Linked DNA regions of Homo sapiens: region 2 is linked to region 1. Evidence: promoter capture Hi-C in 16 types of primary human blood cells and fetal thymus (Javierre and others, 2016). All regions are on one chromosome and are shown on one strand. Each heading gives the region's core, a stretch centred on a gene start or on the middle of the fragment in contact. The rest is flanking DNA. Distances are from core to core; before and after follow the strand shown. Region 1 holds the start of NKAIN2 (sodium/potassium transporting ATPase interacting 2). Region 2 holds the start of RSPO3 (R-spondin 3).

Region 1 (6,194 bases), core at 984-3,483:
TACACACATATGTGAGCACATAAAAACACAAAGGAACCTTTAGCTTTATCATTCTACTTTGAATAGATAGCTTCCCTACTGGTATATTTATGTTTTTCTAAAATTAAGTTCTTGAGGAGTTTGTATTCATCACACAAAATGTCATACAGACCTAGTGCATACATTTGCCATAAGAAAGCCCTATTATATTACATGATTAGAAGTTAAATCACATTTTTCAAATTTTAAATCGAAAAGAGCATAAGAATGATCTACACACCCACTCATTCTCACATTTTTATGCTTTCACACAGTGAATCAGCAAATGTATTCTTTTTCTGAATAATATATAAAAATAAGAATGTTTTGAAAACCTTTATACAGTTTGGCAGACTTAGCCTAATGGGTTGTTTAACAAAGTAAACTCCCTCATTGTTTTGGTTAGCTTTATTATTAAGAGTAAAAATCCTTCATTGCAAAACTTATATGAATCTGTGGTACAGAAAAATAAACTGGTTTACACATCATTGAGAAACTACCACATTCTGAAAATTACATTTATAGTTCCATCTTTGTCTTACAACCAAGTGCATAAGCGCATAAATCACAGATCAAAATAGACACCATCAGATAACTTTCAGGGGAAAGAAAAACATCCTAAGACAACACACAACAAAAAGCACTGTTTCAGCTAAATATTAAACAAAGCAGCAATAACTAACACTCATGGGCTTCACGACAACTGATAAACAAGAACACTTAAGGAATTCCTCTGCCAGTTTCAATGGCAAATCCTTGCTCTTTTGAACACTTTACTGATTGGACACTTAAACATCTTCTGCCTTGTAGTCACTTCAACCTTTATGAAACAGTTGTTGAAAACGGACATGACTATTCCAGTTAATTTATACTTTCTAAGGAAATATATTTAATGACAAGTGTGAGCAAGTAGCTCCTACCTCAAATTAACCACTTAGAGTGGTGTATTTTTCACCTCTCAACTCTCTACTCAGACCCTCCTTCCATTGCCCTTAGGGAATTGAAATTCAGAGACATGACGTTTTCCATTATTGGTTCCTTGCCCCTTTGCAACTGTACAACATTCCTCAAAAAGTACATAGAATTCTCCATCCTATAGGATCAGACAACAGTATCTATTTCAGGAGCAATAATATGCATAATGTAAGACAGAATAGTTTTTCTTGGAATTGTCTGTGTTAATTGTGATTTAAAGGTTACTGGTTCCGTCTATGACAATGGTGTTGCTGAGTTCACCTAAGTATTTTTGTTCAATCTGCATACTTTAAAAACTCAATGTGGCTAAAACTCAAACAGTCTAAATTAGACTGTTGTAAGGATACCATGTGCCCTAAACAGTGGTTTTTTTAGAGCATTATACTTAAAGACAACATTTTCCTTAAAAAAAGAAAAAAAACATGTCTATGAAGAAACAAAGATACTGCAAAATTAGTATAGAGAAGAAAAGTCCAAAATTCCGTATTCCTCTGTTTAACAACCTGTACGGTAAATTGTAGGTGACAATCACGTTGTTACATGAATAGGAATGCAAAGCATAAAGAACAAGAGCTACATCTTGCTTTTCCTAAAGAAATTAAAGACAAGTTTAACCCGCACCTGCCAAACTGTCTTAAAAGGGACAGAAATAGGTGGGAACGGAAAGGCTCACCTCTCCTGTACCCCAGAGTGCGTCTCCCTGAAATCATCTTCAATATAGGCAATATATCTGTCACCTTCTCTTTTATCTTTTTCGTCCATTCTAGTCAATGGCAGACCCTTTGCTGCACTCCCCTGCCCACTATCTCAAAGACACATTACAGAATAAGGGGACCCAAGTGTCACTTACCAGTTGCATGCCACAGATAAAGATAAGCGTGCACCTGCCACTGCAATAACCCATGGTTTCCGAGACCCCTGCCACAGCCAGACTGTCCCACGTCGGCCACCGTCGAGCCCCCACTTTATCCAATCAGATCGCGGGGAAGGACACGCAAACCTGCCGAGGGCTCGGGGGCTCCGGGCTGCTGCTGCTGCCAGCGTCCTGGGAAGTGACAGGCATTAGGACCTGCTGGCGCGGCGGCGGCGGCGGCGGCAGCTCCAGCCGCGCCCGCCACACATACCTTCACTCGCTCGGTGCACACGCCGCGCCGCGGGCAGTGCCGCCTGCGGAGGCGCGCTCGGGGCCCGCAGGGGCAGCAGCGGCAGCCTGGCAGCGCCGCCGCGCCCTCGGGCATCTGGCCCGCGAAGTTTCGCCCCTGCCGCTCTCCGCGCCGCTCGCCTCACGCCCCCCAGCGCGGCCGCCGCCCGACGCGCGCTCGCCCTGCGCTCGCCGCGCGCCGGCTCCGGGGGCGGCAGAAGCGCGCGAGGGCCGCTGCCCGCCTCCCTGCGCAGCCCGCGGCTCCTAGGCACCCTGCGTTGCTGGGCCCGGCGGGCGGGGGTGGGGCGGGGAGCGGGGCGCGGGCCGAGCGGGGGCGTCCCGGCTCCGCGGTCCCCGGCGGCTGCTGCAGCGGCTGCTGCGCGCAATGATGCGGGTCCGCGCCGCGTCCCAGCAGCGGCGCTGCCCCTCCCTTCGCCCAGATGTGTGAATCCTCCTCCTACAACAAATCCTTCATCCTGCTCCCTGCCGCCCCCTCCCAGGGGGCCAACTTTGAGGACCGCAGGGGCTGCCGCCCAGGCGGCCGCAGGCGGCGGTGTCTAGGCGGAAAGGAGCGGCGCGAAAGCGGCGGCGGCGGGGACCGGGGCCTCGGGGCGAGGAGTCTGGGCGGCATGACCGCGGTTTGCTGAGCTGAAGTCGGTCGTGCTCCCAGAGCCACTCCGCGGGAGCGAACCGAGTGTGTGTGTGCGCGCGCGCTCGGGGGAGAAGGGACCAAGAGGAGGGTTAGGGAAGGAAGCTGGGGTCATGGAACAGGGGTGCAACCGAGGCATCCAGAGCGGCCGGAAAGCCCGAGTGGCGGAGAGGCCAGAGGTGGCGAGAAGGGGCGCGGCGGCACCGGACGCACCGCCCAGCACCTGGCTCCCCTGGGCTCCCGAGGATCTGAAGGGTCGGAGCGCGGAGAGCTACGGAGCCGACCCTGCTTGGGGAAGGGGACCGAGTTGCTGCTGGAGTTGGGAAAAATTAGCAACCGGAGGGAATAGGGATGCAATGAGTTGCTGTTGCTGCTTCAAACTGTTGTTTGTTTTCACTTAAAATACTAAAGAGTCGGAGACTAGTTTAATACTCAGTTACTTCAGCTTCACAGCAGTCCCAGCTGGGTGTGGATTCCTAGTGGAGATGCACCAGCCTCCGCTGAGCACCGGCCTGAAAGCTGTGAAGCGGCTGCTACCTGCAGAGACAGGCTTCGGAGCCCGCTGCTGCCACCTGCGGGCGGAAAGCTGAAGGGCGCAACATGCTGGCCCAAGTGGCTGCCCCTGGGGCGTGGATATTTAGGACCAAGTTTCCTTTTTAGCCCTGGCAGCTAAGGAAAGCAATCCTAACTTTTCCAGGAAGTGAAGATTATTTGTTGAGATCCACTGAGGAACTGACTCATTGGGGTGAAGTGTCGCGATTGATAAGAGGATGGTTTAGGGAGCTAAATAGCAAACAGCTCCCTAGCACCCTTCTTAAGAGATTAAGATGACGAAGCCACATCAAGCAGAGAGCTCTCTGTAGCAACTGGAACTTGGCGCCTACTGAGAAAAATGGCATTTATACAGGATAAAGTTATGCTGGGAACCACAAATAAGGATCCCGAATGATTGCTTCCTTTGAATAAACATTATGACGTATCAGAATGACTAAATACAAATAAATTGAATAGGGCAGAGAGACTATTCTCCAGAGCCTGGCACTGAATTTTCAGAAACGTTTCGTCAGTCCTAGGGAGCCAAAAAGGGATTAACTTTGTTAAATTTATGGAGCACAGATATTTTATTGCTATAATGAGAATGTCTGGTTTTAATCGACCCATTTGTAAAGGGGCTTTTCTTCTGAAAAGTGTCTTTCAATGTTTAATAAAATTCCCAAGAGCCCAATATGTGCTCTTAGGCACTGCAAAGCCTGGAAGGTAATAGTTCCACAACCTTTGGTAAAACTGAAGCCAGTTATCTAGTGGAAAATGTTTCTCTTAGTTGCTCTTCTGTCTTTATACACGTTAGCTGTCCTGTACCTGCTAGGGCTATGGGTATTTTGCATTGCCAAACAGAAAGCTGTAAGTTAATTGACTGTTGAAGAAGCTGCTGCCATACTGTCAAAAGCATTCTATTACCTCCTCAAATTAATCATAGGAACAACACATTTATATGGATCCCTCCGTAATCCTGCAGAGGTTTCCCTGCAACCAGCAATAGCCTGAGTAATCTTTAGGTTGTATAGGAAAGCAGAATGCTATCTGTAGCTGACTCCAGCAGTGCCCCACCATAGTTCTTGGACTGTGCCCTTTCAGTCCATGCTTGCGTTTTTGTAATCACTTGGGACAGTCTGTTTTCTAGCCATTGGAGGTGCTTGGCTGAACAATAAGGTTCCAGCCCTAAGAGCTACCCTCACGCAATAATGGATGGGAATTGGAGGATAAATACCCCAGCTTCTTCAATCCTCATATGGGAAACCGTCAGACATGTTCTAGTCTACACCATTAAGGTCCCCACCGAGATTGAGCCCTAGGTGTCCACAGTAGTAACTGGCTCATTCATGCGCTCTGAATTGGCTTCCTTCCCTTCCATGCCTCATCTCCCTGCTTTCATACCACTGCTTCCTGGGATCACCTCTGAAATAAACCACTCAAATCCTTGTGTCAGAGCCTGCCTCTTGAGAATCCCAACCTAAGGCAGTCTCCAGGGGCTTTTATACCTCATCTGACGTCATTGGCACAGTGTTCTCAGAAGTGTGAACTACAAACAATGTTGAGACTTCACTATGTGCAACTACTGCCTTATGTACTAAACCTACATCGTCTCATTCATTCCTCACAGGAAACACATGAGTTGATACAATGCACATTCTAAAGATATACAAACTCAGAGAGAAATCAAATATTTTTATCACGGGTGCACGTGTTCTTGGCGGCAGAATTAGAATTTGAAGGGCATGATTATAAGACACCAAAATTCGCTTTTCGAACTACTGTACCACACTCCTTTATTTCAATATACTTCCCTGTCATTCTTTTAGAATTCCATACGAAAGTGATGACAAAAATATTTAGAAGAATAATCACACATATTTTATCTCTAAATTGGCATCACATCCTTTACATACAGTATAGGCAATGCCTGACTTATGAAAGGGCACCCTAGTTATAGATGCAATTCTATAACTTAATGTGGCTATGCACTTCCTATTCTGTTTTCTATTATTCCTGGAACTGAGTGTCTTAGTAGAAGAGACTAAAAAGAGAATCCCAACAGTTCCACAGACGTTTGTGAAGGAGAGAGATGTCTCCAATTTGAATGTTGATTGCATTTTCACTTAGAAATAAGGTCATAAACTGTTTTGCTATATAAGGTGTTAGACCTTTTGTTGACTAATATGGTGACATAAGTATTGTGAATTGCCTTGTTTCTATGGGGAAAATGTGCTGCACATTCCACACCTCCATCTGCCTCACCTTCCCGTACTGTTTTAAAGTAGTTTTCAAGGTTGTTTCAGATCTATTATCTCATTTATCTCTCAGAACAACTCATGCAATGCAGTAGGCACACAGCCACTGAGTGAACCGGGTTACAGACTGCTAACACTCAATCACTTCAGCTACACCAAAAGCTCAAGCTTGGCGTTGCAACTCTGCTAAACAATTTCACTGAGTTTTATTGCCTCCATTCATTATTTTAAATCATGAAAGCAAAAATTAGTTCTCTTGAAGATTTTTGTGGGTACATAGTAGATGTATATATTTATGGGGTACAGGAGACATTTCGATACAGGCATAGGATGCATAATAATCACATCTTTACAATCACAAAACCAACCTATTTGACTCATTGTACACATTATATATTTTATATTAACATGGATTTTTTTCTTGTTTGGATAATGATTAGGAAAATGATAGTATATTTTAAATGTTAATGGCATATAAGATGAAAATAGCCACCAATTCTTCCATCCAGAGATAATTGATGTCATTTTTATACAAACCATTTTCTAACAAAAATAGGGTGATATCATGCACAACATCTTTTAACCTGCTTTTTTTCACTTGACAATAGACCAAAAACATGTA
Region 2 (6,194 bases), core at 1,440-3,939, 3.3 Mb before region 1:
GGGGATGGGATATGTGAGTGAATAGTGAAGAAGTAGGAAGAGAGAGATCAAGATATGTCCAAAATGAAACATTGGGATGGAGACAAAGGGGAAAAGACAATTTGGCAAATCAGTATATCTAGAATAGTTTTATTTTTTCATAGCTCATTCTTATAATTGCAGAGGTGTATTTTGGTCTTAACTCTACATAGGGCTCTGAAAACTCTACATAGTACTCTGCCAACATTGCATAGGATTCAAAAGAATTATTACAACTAAAAAAAGATTAACCATTGAACTAGAAAATATTTTAGACATTTAGTAGCAATCTGGAGATCTCTGTCCAGATTCAAATAATCTAAAATAATCAGATGTCTAATAAATTCATTTTGGAGCAATGCAGCAAGGGTTTCCCCATAATAACTGGAAAATAAAATTTTACTACACGTTGTAATTTCCATTCATTGCTTTCTGGGGACCTAATTTGTACAATATTAAATGCCAGGGAATTATTTAATGGAGAAATGACTTAGTAAAGCTTATCTATTTGCAAGTTCAAATACTCTTCATATTTCATGTTTAAAGGAATATTGAAATAACAACATTAAATCAGTTTCATACTCATTCTTACATTCTCATTACTTGAGTAACTTGGGGCTAAAAAGAAGGTATTTTAAAATTACCATTTCTAACGTTCTTGTTAAAATCCTTCTATTAAAGTAATAAACGGAATTAAAATAGTGTCACCATGGGATATTTTGAGAAACAACCCTGATAATGTAATGATGATTAAATTTGAGTTCACAAAGATGTTTTTCCTTGCATTTAGATGTTGCCACTACCGCATATGAATTTGCATTTGTCTTGATTTATACAGCTGTTACACGACGTATCAAAGAATACACTTTCTTCAGCAAATTCTATTCGTGTCTGTATCTTTAAAACACTGTTACTCTCAAAAATAAGGCAGACTGGTGAGAAACGTAGACAAGTGTGAAAAATACATTGTAGTCAATATCCAAACCAAACTTTCATTTGAAATTAATATTACAAAATGTATAGTAGAATTAAAGATTTTTCTATTTTATCAGTTAACTTGTTATTTTCCAGGATTCACAACATAATCACAAAGGGTGTGTCATAATTTCAAAGACTGGCTCAACATCTGAAACAATGTCATGAGCAATGACCAGTACATTCCAATAGTCTGTTTTTATTTTATTACCATGAAAATTATTTCCTTTTTATTCTTTCTCTCTTTCTTCAGACGTCTTTATGAAAGACTTGCGAAGTTTTATAGATTGTGCAATGAGTGCTTTTAAATTATTATGCATATAATGGCTTTTCAAAACTTGCATTTATCTAGAGTCTGAACAATTAAAACCGAGCTACTAGATGGCATCAAATAAAAAGGATGCTAAATGCCATCTGATGTTTCTAACAATAACCTTCTGGCACAGAATAATCCCATAGTATCTCCTAGATAATCAAATGATATATTCCGTTTAGAAAACTTTACTATTAGGTATTTAATTCTTTGACATTGATCACCATTATATAAAATAATGAGTTCAAAAATTTCCAGTCAAGGAGAACAGTTTATTCTCTAAACCTATTGAATAAATGATGGCCTTGAGACCATCTAATTTATTACTTAATAAACCTGATATCTTCTCTATGACCAGAATATAGAATAAAGGTGTACATAACTGTGAGATTCATGGCAGGAGACAAGTTCCACTTGCTAGATATATGGCATTATGTAGGTTACTGAGCCTCTAGTTCTCAGGCCTTTTCTTTCTAAGATGGGAAGATAAGTACCTGCTTCTTCACTTCAGTGGCTATTTCAGGGCCCAAGCAACTAATCCACGTGAAAATGTGAGGCCCCACTAAGATTCTGTGGCTATCATTATGGCAAAAAAAAAGTGCTTCTTAATGTTATTAGCACACAATCTGGAATTCAAAGGTTGAGTCATTTTTAAGAGCTGTATACCAATTCAAATAGATAAAAATTTATTGTGTATTTATTCACCCATAACTAAATAGACATTTTAAAGTACAAGGGTCTTGTCTTAAAACATTGTTTCTTTTATGAGAAGAAACACTAGTTTGTAATAACTAGGATCACTAGTTTATATCAAAGTAGAGACAAATGGAATTACAGTTGTTTTAGGGAAACAGGAGAATACTGATATGGCTTTATTTGCTATTTCTGAGGATAATGCATGATTCTTTGGACATGACAATATTTAACACTTCAAATGAATGTTCTTGTTTACAAAAAAGTTTCCTACTAAATCAAGAGAGACCATTAAATTTTTTGTAGAAGTTTTTAACACCTAATTTTCTACCTGTCATATCTTTATTGATGATTTTAAGCTTAGGAAATTGAAACTATATAACTACAGGCCAGAAGACTCCTTAAATATTCACTTAATTGTCTCTTGAAGAAACAATTAGGATAGCCAGCCTCTTTTGAAAACACGTTTGACCACATGTTTTCATTTTAAAAACTTTTCCTAGTCCTTACTTGAGAAACAGGAACTGTGAATTGAATCTTTTTGTTCGTTTTTTTCCCCCAGAGATTTCAAAACAAACGGTATATCTGAGTTTGTGCACATGCAGTTTGACCTTGAGTTTCTGGGCATTTAAAGAGGACCTCTCTACCCTCCACTCCTTCCTCCTTAAGTCATACTGCACCTGCCAAGAGTCTAGTCTGTCTCCTCCGAGGACGCAAGGGGTCGCCCCTCTACCAGGATTGCACCAGCAAACCAAGCCGCAAACGCAGACTCAAGTGCGAAGGAGCAAGAGCATCGCTGTGGGTGCTGTCTCCCAGTCCCACTCCCACAGAAAAATTGGAATTGCAACCCAGTTCCACTATTCCTTCTTTCATCCCCTCAACACAAACAGAGGTCTCCTTTGACTTGGCCTTGAGATGATTAAGGCAGGTCGAAAAGCAGTTTGCCTTTTGACTCCTCTCGGCCCAACCTAGAGGTGCATCATCCCACAGCTCCCTGAGGCAGCGCCCGGGGAAAGCTTCCTGCGCCGTGGTCCTCGCTGGGGGAGGTGGGCACAAAAGGACTACAAGCTTTCTTTCCTGTGTCTTCCTTCAGAATCAGGGGCCCCAAAACTGCAAAGCGAGACGCCTCTGACACTCAGTACCCTGTCCCTCCTTGACAAGTGTGTGGCTCCCAGCCCGGGGGTCCTCGGTGGGGGTAAAGGAGAGAGCGTGCTCTGGGACGCCCAATGGGCACGGGCTGGAAGAGCGGATGGAAAGCAGAGTGGGTTGCGCTCCAGCCCGGGCTCCCTATGCCCACTGACCCTGAGACTCAATTCCCCAGGCCAGACCCTGGGAGGAGAGGAGGCGGGGACCGCCAGGCGCGTGGACACCGCTGAACCCCAGGCCTCCCCTTCCGCGTCCGGGCCGGAATGAAAGAGTGGGTGGGGAGTTACCAGAGTACACACCATTCGGAGGCCAAGAATAATAAATCGGATGCCCTGACATATTTAGTTTGGGCTCTCCTGCCCCCTGCTAGGTGATCCTAAAGGCGGTGAGGCCCGGCCAGGGCCCCTGTCGCTCTGGCACTGCCACCTTTTTAAAAGGCAATTTTCAGGTGAATCAAACCTTGTCTGGCCGAGGCCAGCAATACAAAGGGAGCTTTCAGGGGACCCTCATGCCCAGGGGCAGGGCAGGGACAAACAGCGGCCGAGAAGCGATTACTAAATTTCCATCTCACACAAGCCGGTGTTGTGTCCTCCGCGCTGCCCCGACGTCTGCCCCGAAAGGCTTCCCGGGCGGGACGCTGGGAGAGGGATCCCCTTGGGAAACCAGGTGGGGCCGCTGGGCCTGGGCTGCACGCCGCGGAGGTGCGAGAGCCCAGAGCAGCAGCATCGCTTCCTGCCCCTCGCGAGCTCCAGGAGAAGTTTCCTCCTCCCTCTCTCCACCAGCGCCCCCAACCATAGAGCCAGGGTCGCCCCTGCTCTGAGATCTGCGAAAGGACTCCCCATGGGAACACAGACACTAGAGCAGCGAGGGCGCCAGGCTACCCTGGAGCGAGGAGAGGTGACACCTTCGCATCTGTCCCTTCATCTTGGGAAGATTCTACCTTTCAGACAGACCAACCCAGGTTGAGGCTGCCGTGGTGGTGTCCGCTTAATTCCAGCTAGGACACCGTCTTAAGAAGCCATCACAATCCAACCCTCCAAATAACAGCATTAAGGGCAGCGAGGAGGCGAATCTTTAGGGAGACCCCACTCTCTGTACGTGTGTGTCCCAGGGGACACACTTGAAAGGGCCAGAGATGGTACAGACGCTCACATGTGACAAGAGAGAACCTGGAAACTCCGCACCTCCGGCTCCCCACAGCTGGGGTTTTGCTGTCTTCAACCCTCGGGCGGGGGACGTCCGGCAGCTCTGCAAACGCGCAGACACGCGAACCCCATCGCCTCGCGCGCCCTTTGGCTCCGCTGGTGCGTGTCGGGGATGCGGCCGCGCAGGCGCTCGCTCCCTGGCTTCCTGGCCGGGTAGCGGGCGTTCGGCTACCGGAGTCCAGCCTAAGGGCCCAGCCGAGGTCTCCCCGCGCGAGGCGGTTGCGCTAGGTGAGCGGGTACCGCGGCCGCGCCTCCCTTGTCATTTACTCAGCGGTCAGAGGCATCCTGCGTCTGGGAGTCCCAAGTGCCTTCGGCTGGGTGCCCCTGTCCGATCCTCAAAAGGAAAGCACAAATCCCGGGTGCGAGTCTAACCCAGGACCGAACTTTCCCGCGAACCTGAAGTTACCATGGGGCGGGAGCCACCTTAGCGCCGCGTCCGCCCGCCCCTCGCACCGGCTAGGATGCTGCGGAAGGCAGGGGCGCCGAGAGGCAAGGGTGAAAGACGCCGTCCATACCCCCAAAGCCCGAACCTGCATCTCCTCTGCGAGGCGCAGGGCGGGAGGACCGCTGCAGTTGGGAGCCGGCTCCGGACAGGCAAAGCGACCCGACAGGTGAACGCGGCGGGAGGGAGCAAACGCGTAAAAAACCCTGCACTTACTTCTTCGCTGGCGCCTTCCCCGGGAGGCGTTTTGGCTGCCGATGTATTCCATAAAGTTCAAAATGATAAAAAGCCAAGAAATCAGTCGCAAGTGCATAGTAACCCAGTAATGCTTCCCTTCCTTTCTCCTCTTTCTTTTGATTGTTAATTATATTTAATGTTTTTAAAATATATGTAGGTGTTAGGCGTATATAGACAGTGCCCGAGCAGCGGGACTTCTCCTCTCACATCCGATAGGCGTGCTGTGATGGCAAGCGAAGTGGGGCGGGTGGACAGGGAAACCAACTATTGTACTTTCAAATTATCCAAGCACTGAACTGCGGCGGCTTCGCTGGGGTGGCTGGCATCGCCGCGAACCGGGGTTCCAGGAGCCGCCGGGGCGGCCGCAGGTAGCATGTTGTGCGGCAACTGCCGCAGGCGGGATCCGGGCGGGCGAGCGGCGGCGGCGGCGGCTGCAGCGGCGGCCCCTTGGGCTCAGAAGCTGCGGCGGCTGCGGCTGCAGCGGCGGGGGCCCCTGGAGCGCAGGGGAGCGGGCGCCGTCGGCACAGCGGCCATGGCCAAGGGGCGGCGGAGAGACCCCGAGCTGCTTCTGGCGTGCGCGAGCAGGAGACGCTCCAGTGTTGGGCTGGGCTCCCGGGAGCACCACATAGGGGAGGAGGAGGAGGAGGGCAGGGAGGGGGGAGGGAGAGGAGGGCAGGGAGGGGGAGAGGAGGGGGGATGGCTGTGGGGGGCGGGGGGGAGCTCGGGGGCGGGGAAGGAAACTGCTGGAGCAACAACCCTGAGCGACCTCAATAACTTTCAATTTCAAGAGGGAAAGAGGGAGCTGGAAAAGTACAGGCGTTGCGCTTTGGCAGAGGGACGGGAAGAGGCGCCTAAGGGGTCCCGGGTCTACAGCGCAGCATCTCTGGACACTGCAGTGACGGCCGGAGAATTCCAGCCAGAAGAATGGGGAAAGCAGTGCGTGCGAAGAGCCCCTCCAGAAGGGCAGCTCTGGCGGGGAGACTTGGGCGCACTGGGGCTGGCAGGCAGTGTTGAGGCCGAAGACCCCCCACCCATCCCAGTTCGGCTCCTCTCCGCGGCCTCAAGCTAGGCGCACCCGGCTGTCGGTGGCCGTGCGCCCCTGCGCCCTTGTGCCCCAGCGCCCCCACCCCATCCCCAGCGCCGGCGCGCAACTACCCTCTCCCCC

The links. Contacts are between HindIII fragments. The CHiCAGO score rates a contact against its expected background, and 5 or more counts as called.
Region 2: a contact is called between a fragment that was not itself captured here and the fragment with the promoter of NKAIN2 in region 1, in 1 of 17 cell types (naive B cells). The highest score is 5.1, in naive B cells.

What each region holds. Positions count from the first base shown.
Region 1 is chr6:123,799,904-123,806,097 of GRCh38, reverse strand. NKAIN2 (sodium/potassium transporting ATPase interacting 2) reads right to left here and starts at 2,233. Exons shown (of 7, transcript NM_001040214.3): 1 at 1,844-2,233. The coding sequence starts at 1,897. RefSeq lists an enhancer at 3,428-3,477. The HindIII fragment of the contact is 9,489 bases long and covers 1-5,742 here.
Region 2 is chr6:127,118,104-127,124,297 of GRCh38, reverse strand. RSPO3 (R-spondin 3) reads right to left here and starts at 5,627. Exons shown (of 5, transcript NM_032784.5): 1 at 5,009-5,627. The coding sequence starts at 5,105. LOC105377989 (a long non-coding RNA gene) reads left to right here. Exons shown (of 14, transcript XR_002956387.2): 4 at 2,562-5,397. The HindIII fragment of the contact is 657 bases long and covers 2,361-3,017 here.